Linked DNA regions of Homo sapiens: region 1 is linked to region 2. Evidence: promoter capture Hi-C in human tissues and cell types (Jung and others, 2019). All regions are on one chromosome and are shown on one strand. Each heading gives the region's core, a stretch centred on a gene start or on the middle of the fragment in contact. The rest is flanking DNA. Distances are from core to core; before and after follow the strand shown.

The links. The method cuts DNA at HindIII sites, captures the fragments that hold promoters and counts their contacts. A contact is called where the count stands out against the background at its distance.
Region 1: a fragment that was not itself captured here is called in contact with the fragment with the promoter of IDH2 in region 2 in 1 of the 25 tissues and cell types used here (spleen).

The regions. Positions count from the first base shown.
Region 1 is chr15:90,671,750-90,677,209 of GRCh38, forward strand. The region is part of intron 2 of CRTC3-AS1 (CRTC3 antisense RNA 1); the gene reads right to left. Among named protein-coding and RNA genes, the nearest start is that of LINC01585, 14 kb to the left of the region's middle. The HindIII fragment of the contact is 6,170 bases long and covers 1-4,972 here.
Region 2 is chr15:90,100,108-90,105,277 of GRCh38, forward strand. IDH2 (isocitrate dehydrogenase (NADP(+)) 2) reads right to left here and starts at 2,361. Exons shown (of 11, transcript NM_002168.4): 1 at 2,169-2,361. The coding sequence starts at 2,283. IDH2-DT (IDH2 divergent transcript) reads left to right here and starts at 2,025. Exons shown (of 3, transcript NR_149130.1): 1 at 2,025-2,271; 2 at 3,273-3,345. RefSeq lists enhancers at 787-1,642, 1,643-2,497 and silencers at 1,032-1,081, 1,142-1,231, 1,722-1,791, 2,112-2,571. The HindIII fragment of the contact is 13,716 bases long and covers 1-5,170 here.

The sequences.
Region 1 (5,460 bases), core at 638-3,137, 570 kb after region 2:
CACAGCAAAACCCCAGGGAGGCCTTGGAATTCCAAGATCCATGGCTCACCTGGATTTCCAGTGGCTTGGGAGCCCCTAATTGAACTGTCCAAAAAGATGACGGAGTGAATGAAGTCCCACACTGGGGTGGAGGGAGAAGGGAAGAGGGCCTACCCCCGCTAAGGCCTGGGTGTGAGCTGCCTGGGAAGTGTGGGTCACAGACGTGGGGTAAAGGGAGATTTCAAGGAAGAAGAGGCCCCAAACGCCAGGTGGTGCTGGGAAGCCAAGTATGATGGGGAGTCCACTGGGTCTAGTGACAAGGAAGATGGCAGATGTCGGACTGCAGATGGGGGAAGAGTGAACAGGTGCCGTGGATTGAATATGTGTATCCCCTCCCCAGATTCATCTGTTGAAATCCTAACCCCCAAGGTGATGGTATTAGGAGGTGAGCCTTTAGAAGGTGATTAGGTCATGAGCTAAGAGCCCCCAGCAGTGAGATTACTACCCCATGAAAGGACCCCAGAGAGTTCACTCTGTCTCTCTCTCCCCATCACATGAGGATACAAAGAAAATTCGGCCATCTGCAACCCAGAAGACATCCCTTGCCAGAACTCAACCATGCTGGCACCACAATCTCATTCCAGACTCCAGAATGTGAGAAAGTGCATTTCTGTTGTTTATAAGCCTATGGGAGTCTAAAGCAACCTGAATGGACTAAAATAGGTGATGAGAAAGTAAAGCACAGAGTGCATATGAAACTTTCTAGACACTTGAACATGACGCTGTCCTGGGAGCCCTTTGGTTATATTCTCCTCCAAAAGCCCAAAGACCCTGTAGTACCATCACACAGCTATTTTGTTTTGCATATTTTTCTGGAAAAAAGGATAAAACAAATTATGACTGCGTATGATTCAAAGTCCCACCAAAATCTGTATGCCCCTTTCTCACAAAGACACATTTTACATCTTTGTTACAAAATTAATATGGGTTCTTTTTCTGAAAGTTCCTAGGATAACTCTTGTCCTCAAATTGTGCCAATTACTGAACAGAGAGGGTTCTGCCTTAAATGAGGAAATGGAATTATGATTGGAACACGTCATTGCTGATTATCGCTGCTCCCAAAAGAAGATGTAAAGAGGTTCAGGTTCCTTCCTTTTGTTTCATTTGTTTGCTTGTTTGTTGAGACAGTGTCTCAGACAGGCTGGAGCGCAGTGGCACGATCATGGCTTAACTCCCTGCAACCTCGAACTCCCAGGCTTAGGTGATCCTCCCTCCTCAGCCTCCTGAGTAGCTGGGACTACAAGTGCACGCCATCACACCTGGCTAATTTGTGTATTTTTTTGTAGAGATGGGATTTCGCCATGTTCCCCAGGCTGGTCTTGAACTCCTGGGCTCAATGGATCTTCCCGCCTCAGCCTCCCAAAGTGCTGGGATTACAGGAGTGAGCCACCTCATCAAGCCCAACCCCCTCCCTTTGAAATAGACTGGTTGTGGATACTCTGTCGGTTCCCCAAGAGGATGGAGAATCCAGTTCTCCCTGGATATATTTTTGTAAAGTACACCAAAGGAGAGGACTAAAGCCACTGTAGAAATAACCAGGGCTGTATGATGTTGTAGAGAGAAAAAGGAAAGTAGAATGAACCCTTAGGACTGGTGTATAGGTTTCTTGGTGTCTTGACATTTCCACCACATTTCTTATTTTAAAGAAACTGAAAAAGTGGTGGACATAGAGAAGGGAGCGCTTCCTGGCTTACGCCGAAGGAGAGCGGAGAGACAGGTGGCAGGAGGGGGAGATGGAGTCCAGGGAGCCCGCCCTTCCTTCCTTCCTTCCTTCCTTCCTTCCTTCCTTCCTTCCTTCCTTCCTTCCCTCCTTCCTTCCTTCCCTCCTTCCTTCCTTCCCTCCCTCCCTCTTTCTTCAGAGTCTTGCTCTGCCGCCAAAGCTGGAGTGCAGTGGTATGATCTCAGCTCACTGCAACCTCCACCTCGCGGGTTCAAGCGATTCTCCCGCCTCAGACTCCCTAGTAACTGGGACTACGGGCGTGTGCCACCACACCTAATTTTTGTATTGTTAGTAGAGATGGGGTTTCACCACATTGGCCAGGCTGGTCTCGAACTCCTGACCTCAAGAGATCCGCCCACCTCGGCCTCCCAAAGTGCAGGGATTACAGGTGTGAGCCACCGCGCCTGGCCCCAGGGAACACCTTTCATGGAAAAGACGAGCATATTTAAATGCTGACACACTGTGGGCAGAGAGTCTGGAGACAGTGGGAGAGACCTGGTTTTGCGGTTCTAGGCCAATAGGAGGGGTGGGATTGAGAGCCCAGGAGCAGGGACTGGCCTTCGAGAGAAAGGGGTGAGCATTCAAGCAGGGTGTCTGGTGAGGGCTGGGAGGGAGAGATCAGGAAGTTGAAGGAACTCTCATCTGATGGATTCTCTTTGTTCTGTGCAATAGGAAGAGAGGGGTTAGTGATGGCAGAGGGATGGGAGGGATGCTGAGCTGACAGAAGGTTTAGAAAAGCTGGTAGGAGGAAGGGAGAAAGAGCCGGCCAGGGAGGTAGAGCAGGCTGGTAGGAAGCGTCACAGGCACTGTGGGTGTTCCCCCAGTATTCATCTTCTCTTCTTCCACGGCGATGGAATATCACTGGTCACTCAAAGACCAAGGGACAAGGGTTGGGTTTTTTATTTTGTTTATGTGCTTGTTTTTTTTTTTCCCCAGCCCAAACATGTTTATCATGAACTCCCTTTTCAGAGCAATGAGAAGCCTCAACATACTTCTTTTTTTTTTTCTTCTGAGAGAGGGTCTCACTCTGTCTCCAAGGCTGGAGTACCGGCATGATCATGGCTTATACAGACTTGACCTCTGGGATCAAGCAATTCTCCCACCTCAGCCTCCCAAAGTGCTGGGATTACAGGCATGAGTCACCACGCCTGGCCCCCAACACACTTCTTGACAGAGTCTGTGGTATCTGCAACCTGAGAATACACACAAAATGCCCAAGCGTTATTCTCTGCACCAAGGCTGCATTTCCCAGGACTCTGACCCCATTTGCAAAAAGAGTCCAGCAGCAGTGAAGGGCCCAGTCTAAGGTGTCACTATTCATCTCATGGCTACCCTGGAAGGAGAGGGGGGCTCTGCACTACAGGATGGTGTGAATTTTGCCCAGCACTATGTTTTTAATATTCATGTATACTGACTTTTCTTTTTATTAAAAAAGTGGGCTGGGCTCGGTGGCTCACGCCTGTAATCCCAGCACTTTGGGAGGCCGAGGCGGGCGGATCACCTGAAGTCGGGAGTTTGAGACCAGCCTGACCAACATGGAGAAACCCCGTCTCTACCAAAAATACAAAATTAGCCGGGCGTAGTGGTGCATGCCTATAATCTCAGCTACTCGGGAGGCTGAGGCAGGAGAATCACTTGAACCTGGGAGGCAGAGGTTGTGGTGAGCCAAGATCGCGCCATTGCACTCCAGCCTGGGCAAACAAGAGCGAAACTCCGTCTCAAAAAAAAAAAGTGATTATTAAATATAATATACAAAAAGGCATAAATAATGCAAAACACCCATGTCCCTATCATCTAGTTTAAAGAAAACATTACTAAGAGCATTCATCTCTGACTGCATCCCTTCTCCCTGCCCTTAAGTACCTGCTCCCTGCTCCCTTGAGTCTGGGATCTTTCCTTCCCACGCCTCCCACCATGCTGGCCCAGAGAGGAGGGCGTTCCGTGGTGCAGTGCATTGCAGGTGGGTGAACAGGCTGCACTGCAACATTGCAGTAACAAATAGAGAAATCATGAAAGCAACAAAAGAGAGATGAGAACTGTACTTTAGAGATACAAATACAAGCAATTGCAGAGACCGAGACCAAAAGCTTAGGTCATTAATATGTTAGCGTAGACACGGTGACAAGTCCAATGGGTGGCTATCTTAGGACACAGAAACCTGTCAGTGAACAAACCACAGGATAATGACAAAGGGGCCTGGACTAGGACTGACGCCTCCAAGCTGTTCCTAGCCAAGGTTTCACCAATATTCAGGTGAGGAGGGATTGCCATTTAAAACGGGAGTAAAGTTGTGGCCACACCAGTGTGTTGTTATCAGGTTTGGTATTAGCTGGCTGGTGAGCTGCAGAAGTCTATTTTACCGTGTGGGTTAGTTTCTCTTTTTTCTTTCTTTCTTTTTTTTTTTTTTTTTTTTGAGATGGAGTCTCGCTCTGTCTCCCAGGCTGGAGTGCAGTGGCGCGATCTCGGCTCACTGCAAGTCTGCCTCCTGGGTTCACGCCATTCTCCTGCCTCAACCTCCCAAGTAGCTGGGACTACAGGCACCCACCACCATGCCTGGCTATTTTTTTTTTTTTTAATATTTTTAGTAGAGTCGGAGTTTCACTGTGTTAGCCAGGATGGTCTCGATATCCTGACCTCATGATCTGCCTGCCTCGGCCTCCCAAAGTGCTGGGATTACAGGCATCAGCCACCGCGCCCGGCCAGGTTAGTTTTTCTTAACAAGTCAATGCTCAGATGCGTCTACCCACCAGGCTCACATTTGAGTCAAGAAAATAAAATGAAAGCCCTACTGGATTGTTGGACATCTTGAAGTACTTCCTTAGGGAAAGATGGGTGAGAGGCTGTTAGCTGCCATTTAACTGTAGTTTCAAATTTATCAAACATCTCTTTGCAATATGTCCAAGTTAGCCTGGAAGTGAACTCGACTTCATAGCCAGAGGAGCTGCCTGCCTTCCAAGCTGTGCTGCTAGCACTCTCCTCCCACCCTGTGCTGGGCACAGTTTACTGTCTTAGATTGTGGGCCTGGAGTTTTCTTTGTGACAAGGTTGTTGTTGTTTTCTTTTTTGAGACAGAGTCTCACTCTGTTGCCCAGGAGTGCAGTGGCATAATCTCAGCTCACTGCAACCTCTGCCTCCTGGATTCAAGCAATTCTCCTGCCTCAGCCTCCCAAGTAACTGGGACTACAGGCAAAGGCCACCATACTTAGCTAATTATTTTTTGTATTTTTAGTAGACACAGGGTTTCACCATGTTGGCCAGGCTGGTCTTGAACTCCTGACCTTGAGTGATCCATCCACCTTGGCCTCCCAAAGTGCTGGGATTACAGGTGTAAGCCACCATGCCCAGCCTGTGACAAGGTTTTTAACTATAAATTCAATTTCTTTAATTAACATTAGGCTATTCAAATGACCTATTTCTTCATGAGTAAGCTCTTAAGTTTTTCAAGAATTTATCCATTTCATCTAAGTTATTGAATCTGTTGGCATAAAGTTGTTTATAATGTTCCCTTGTTATCCTTTCAATATCTATGGAATCTGTAGTGATGTCTCCTCTCTCATTTCTGATATCAGCAATTTGTATTTTGTTTTGTTTTGTTTTTTTCATAATCGGTCAGGCTAGAAGTTATCAATTTTATTGATATTTTCAAAGAACCAGCTTTCAGTTTCATTGACTTTTTCTATTGTTCTTGTGTTTTCCATTTCA
Region 2 (5,170 bases), core at 1,111-3,610:
CACGGGTGGCATCTCTCTCCAGCAATAGGCCCCATGCCCTGAAGAAGCTTACAACCTACAGTGTACTAATATTTGCAATCTGCTGGTATTTTTAACATGGGTTTACAGAGTATAAACCCCAGGGAAGGCCACAGACCCTGGCTTCCAGTAATCTGAGAGCAGTTTCCAGCACCTCATACCCTGAATGGAACCAGCCCAAGGGCCCTCAACTTCACACAGAAGATGTGGGAGCAGGCCTCAGCCATTCCAAAGAGGCTTTTCCTCAGTACCTACTAGGCCTAAACACAACCACCCCAATCAGCTCTGGCAGGGCAGCTAGGGCCTTATCTGACGTGGCAGAAAGATCTGCACACTTAAGGGGCAAGAATTAAGAAGTTTCTGGGTTAGGAGTGAAGGAAGGCTAGATAAGTAATTCTGCCACTGAGCCGTTCACAGAACTGGTCCGCACTGCCCCAAGCTCTAACTTACCAGAAACATCACCAGCAGTCGCTGGAAGCCTATGGCGTTGCAAAATAGGAAAAGATGCGTGCAGGAATTACCAGGCAGCAAAGACACGGGGCTCTTTTAGCCCCAAAATATTCTTTCCTTGTCATCAAGGGGAATGCCAAGTATTCTGTCTCCAGCTGCGTTGCCAGGTAACAAGCTGGCAGAGTCGCAACTGTAGAGTCTGATGTCCAACTCCAACACCAAGCAATTTCCCCATTCATAACCAACCCACATGGGGACTTCTAGAAGGGCCTGCAACTGACTGCTTTTTCTGTATCCAAATTCAGGACCCTTAAAAGGCGCTTTGTGTTCCTGTTTGTGTGTGTTTTTCGGGTTGTTTGTTTCTTTTTTTTTTTTTTACCATCAAGGCAGAAAAAAAGGGAGAATTAAAGAATGTGGCTAACTTCCACCATATTTTTGCTGAAGGTGGTGTGCTATATGGGAATCTTTGGGTCCTGGGGCACTTGGAACCTGGGAGTTGTTGGGCAGATCCCTGAGGTAGATTCCCAGAGGTACAAAAGCAGACATGCCCCTTTCTCCTTGGCAGGGAAGGTAGGACTGGGGCCCAAGCCTCCCTACCCCCCCGGCTCTAGTCAGCTGCTCCCACAATCCGGTTAACCATTACCTCCTCTGGCCAGGTCAGGGCCAGCGGGCCCCATCCCCTCTTCCTCACTCTCCTGGCTCACTGCAAGGGGCTCCTGGCCAGATTAGGATAGGGGTTTCCATGGCAACAGGCATTAGGCAGGGCCAAGGGACCTACATTGTTCCCTGCCTTTTGTAGCTGTGTTGGGTAGCCAGGGTGAGGGGGCAGGCCGATGCCCACACGCCAAGCAAGGCAGCCTGCGTTGGCAACGGAGGCTCGGGCTAAGTCTTGCTTATTACGACCCGACTACTGTCTTCCCTCCTAAGCAGGGAACTAAGGGTACCCAGAAGCCGTGGGAACGATTCCGCAAAGTGACATTTTGCGCGGGCTGCCAGGTCTCTGCGGCGAGTGAGCCAGGCAGGGAGGGCATGTGCCTGCCAAGGCAGGTCAAGTCAAGGAGAGGCCCCAGGATGGAGCCTCAAGTGCAGCGATGAAGGCGAAGGGGTGGGGGTGGGGGCGGCCAAACAAAAGGGGAAAATTAAAAAGGACGCTCCTCCAGCTGTCGTGTAAAAGGCTCCAAAAATAGCTGACGTGGGCCTGGTATCAGCGCGCGCCTGGCTGAAAAGGAAGGGGAAGTGCATGTCTCCCGCCTCCCAGCCTTTGTCTGAGCAGGGGCCGAGCCACGACCCTCCCTCTCGCCAGGGGAGCGCGCGGGGTGCTCCAGCCCCCCACGGGTGCTCGTCTCGTTCCAGGGGCGCAGGGCGGGCAGGCCACCCTTCGGGTCCGGGACACTCTCAGGACCCCCTCCCGAAATACCTAGGGGCGCGCGGCAGCCCCGAGCCCCCGCCCGCGCAGAGCTGGCCGTCGCCCGGGCCACCAGTTGCCACCGTCCCTCAAGTCCCCACCCCAGCGCCTGGCACGGCCGGGAAGCGCCGGGCGGGGGAGCGCGGAGCGAAGCTGCCCCGCGGCCCTTTGTGCGCCTGACCCCGCCGTCCCCGGGCTGCGGGCTGGCGGGACGTGCTTCCCGGCCCCAGCCTGGGAAGCCGCCACGTCGCAGCTGGGGGCGCGCGCCTGCCTGGACCCTCCGCGCGGCACTCACAGTGGCGCCGCGGCTGCTCTTGCGAGGTGGGGGCTGTCAGGGCCGCCGGCGCCCAGGCCGGCCGCGAGCCTGAGGCTCTGCAGAGCGAGCGCACGACCCGCAGGTAGCCGGCCATCCCAAGCTGGAGAGCGAACGAGCAGGGCGGGAGAGGTCCGAGCGCGCGCCGCTCCTCCCGGCTGCCTGGCCGCGGGCTAACGCTGGGCCTGGCGGGCGCTGGCCGCGCGGGCACCACCGGGGCGGGGCTGCCGGGCCTGCCGCCCCATTGGGCCTTGCCGGGGAGGAGGCGGGGCCAGGGCCGCCGACGCCTCCAGCGTCCCGCGGGAGCCGGGACCCGGCGGCCAGGCCCGGCTGGTGCTTCTCTGGGCGCCGCTGAAAGCCCAGCTCCGCAGGAGCTACAGGCGTGAGACCCACCGGGACCCGCGAGCGGGATCAGGGCTGGGGGATTAGCAGAGCCGCTTGCGAGGCTGACCCTCTCCAGGATGCCCCATGTAAACCTGGATGTCAGTTTCTGACGCTTTAGCTTAAACCCAAAAGCCAATCTGAGCGAACTCTTGCTTCCCTCGCCTGCCGGGCTGAACCCAAAGGCGCATTAGCCCAGTGCGGCTGCTTCATTCTTGAGCTAAGACCGCCGGCGGCGTCTGCGCCTCCGCGAGTCCGCTGTCAGGTCCAGCTGGTGTAGAGAGAGTTGAAATCTCACTTTGGGCCGGGCGCGGTGGCTCACGTCTGTAATCCTAGAACTTTTGGGAGGTCGAGGCAGGCGGATCACTTGAAGTCAGGAGTTCGAGACCAGGCTGGCTAACATAATGAAACCCCTGTCTCTACTAAAAATACAAAAATTGATCGGGCATGGTGGCGCGCGCCTGTAATCCCAGCTACTCAGGAGGCTGAGGCGGGAGAATCACTTGAACCTGAGAGGCAGAGATTGCAGTGAGCTGAGATCATGCCACTGCACTCCAGCCTGGGCAACAGAGTGAGACTCCGTCTCAAAAAAAAAAAAAAAAAACCACGAAAAAAGAAATATGATTGGACCAGAAGGCCAATAACCTGAGTGGGGAAACCCAGCAAGTCCTGTCCGTGTAGATTCTTCTTGACCTTTCTCTGCAGCATTCCTTCCTTCTGAGTACGGGGCAGGACTCTCTCTGGGATGGAGGGGTCTTAGGACCTGCAAGCAAACAAGGTAGGTCAGATAATTTATGGCCAGTTTTTACCCAGAAATGTGTGGGAGAAAGAGTAATATTTTTGGGTTCGATGTCTGGCTTTGGGGGAGAAGGGCTCTGGTTTCTATGACCTGCCTTGAGGAAGAAGGATTCCAGTTTCTATGGCTGGCCTCGGAGGAGAGTGAGGGGCCAAAGACAGGAGGGAGGGAGAGGGTCAGAGAGAGCTGCTCCTGAGGCCTGCATTTTGGGGTGTTGTTTTCTGAGACCCTAGAGTAGTCAAACAGCCACAGTAGAAACAGTTCCATTTTTGCCTGTTTGCATATAAAAGATGGGTTTGTTTGTTTGTTTTAATTAAAAATAGAGATGGGGGGATCTCACTATGTTGCCCAGGCTGGTCTCCAGCTCCTAAGCTTAAATGATCCTCCCGCCTCGGCCTCGCAAAGCACTGGGATTACAGGTGTGAGCCACTGCACCTGGCCACAAAAGACAGTTGTAATTGATTCTGCCACAAACAAAGTTTCTCTCTTCATCTGTTTTCTTAAACTAAGACACCAGCTGAGGGCTGGGTTTTATTTGGAAAAACCTGACCTCTTTCCCTTCTCTGCTTTCCCAGTCACGCTAATTCACTCCAAATAGGAGCAACCTTTCTCTTCTGTGTTCTCAGCCCTCCCCTCCACTACCTCACAGTCAACATTGCCAGGTGGAGCTGGACCAGGAAGGTGACCTTCAACTAGTGACTTCAAAGCTCCCCTCACCAAGTCCTAGCCGGCAGAACTACTACTCTGGCCATGGGATCCAGAAGGCTGAGCCCAAGGGAGGGCTGCTTTTGGGCCCCCCAGAGTCTGAGGCCTCTGTCAAAGGCCTGGTCTTGGGCCAGCTTGTGCCAGAAAGACCCCTTATCCCTTTGACTCTGTTCAGAATTCTGTTGCTCCAAACACAAGTAGAGACCATGGAAGCCTCTGGCATTTGACTTTCCTGCCAACCTGGTATTATCAGGTGCCTGGATCTCAATGTCCACACCTGTAAACTGGAAGACTGGACCCCTGAAGATCCTTCTGGTCCAAACAATCAGACTTACGTATGTCAGCCACCCATACTGCCACCTCTGAAATGGCGGTAATGAAATTGCTGTCCCCCTCCCCCCACCAAGGACTTGCCCCTTTCTCTGCATGTTGGACTCATATCTCAGAGGCCTGGCCAGAGGCAGCACTGTAGGTGTGTTCCAGAGTCTGGTCTTTGCCTGCTGAGGGATCAGAGGGGGAGCACTTGTGTGCCTTGTAAGCACAGCAGCAGCTGGAGGCAATTGAGGCAAAATCTTTAAACGGATTCTAACTACCTGCCTCCCAGGGCCCCAGCTCCACGCCAGCCTTTCCCGTAAATCCTGTTTGGTGAGGCAGCTGATGCCAGCTCCATTTGGCTCGTAGAGGTTACCACACTTGCTCAATGTCACACTGCTGGGAAGCAGTAAAACTCCAGTTCAAATCAACATACCTGGCCCATATTCCATTACTGTTTTTTTGTTTTTTCCGAGACAGGGTCTCACTCTGTTGCCCAGGCTGGAGTGCAATGGTATGATCATGGCTCCCTGAAGCCTCGACCTCCCGGGCTCAAGTGATCCTCCCACCTTAGCCTCCTCAGTAGCTTGGACAACAAGAACATGCAACCATGCCCGGCTAATTTTTTTTCTGTTACTTTTTGAAGGAGAAAGAGGGAGAAACCACAGCCCCTATTTATTGTGCTGGTCTGGAATTCCTGGTGATGGTAACTATTGGCCCTGAAAGCTGCTGCAGAGAAAGATGGTGTTTAAAGGAAAGGGGCTCAGATCCTCCCATCTGGGGTCAGTGG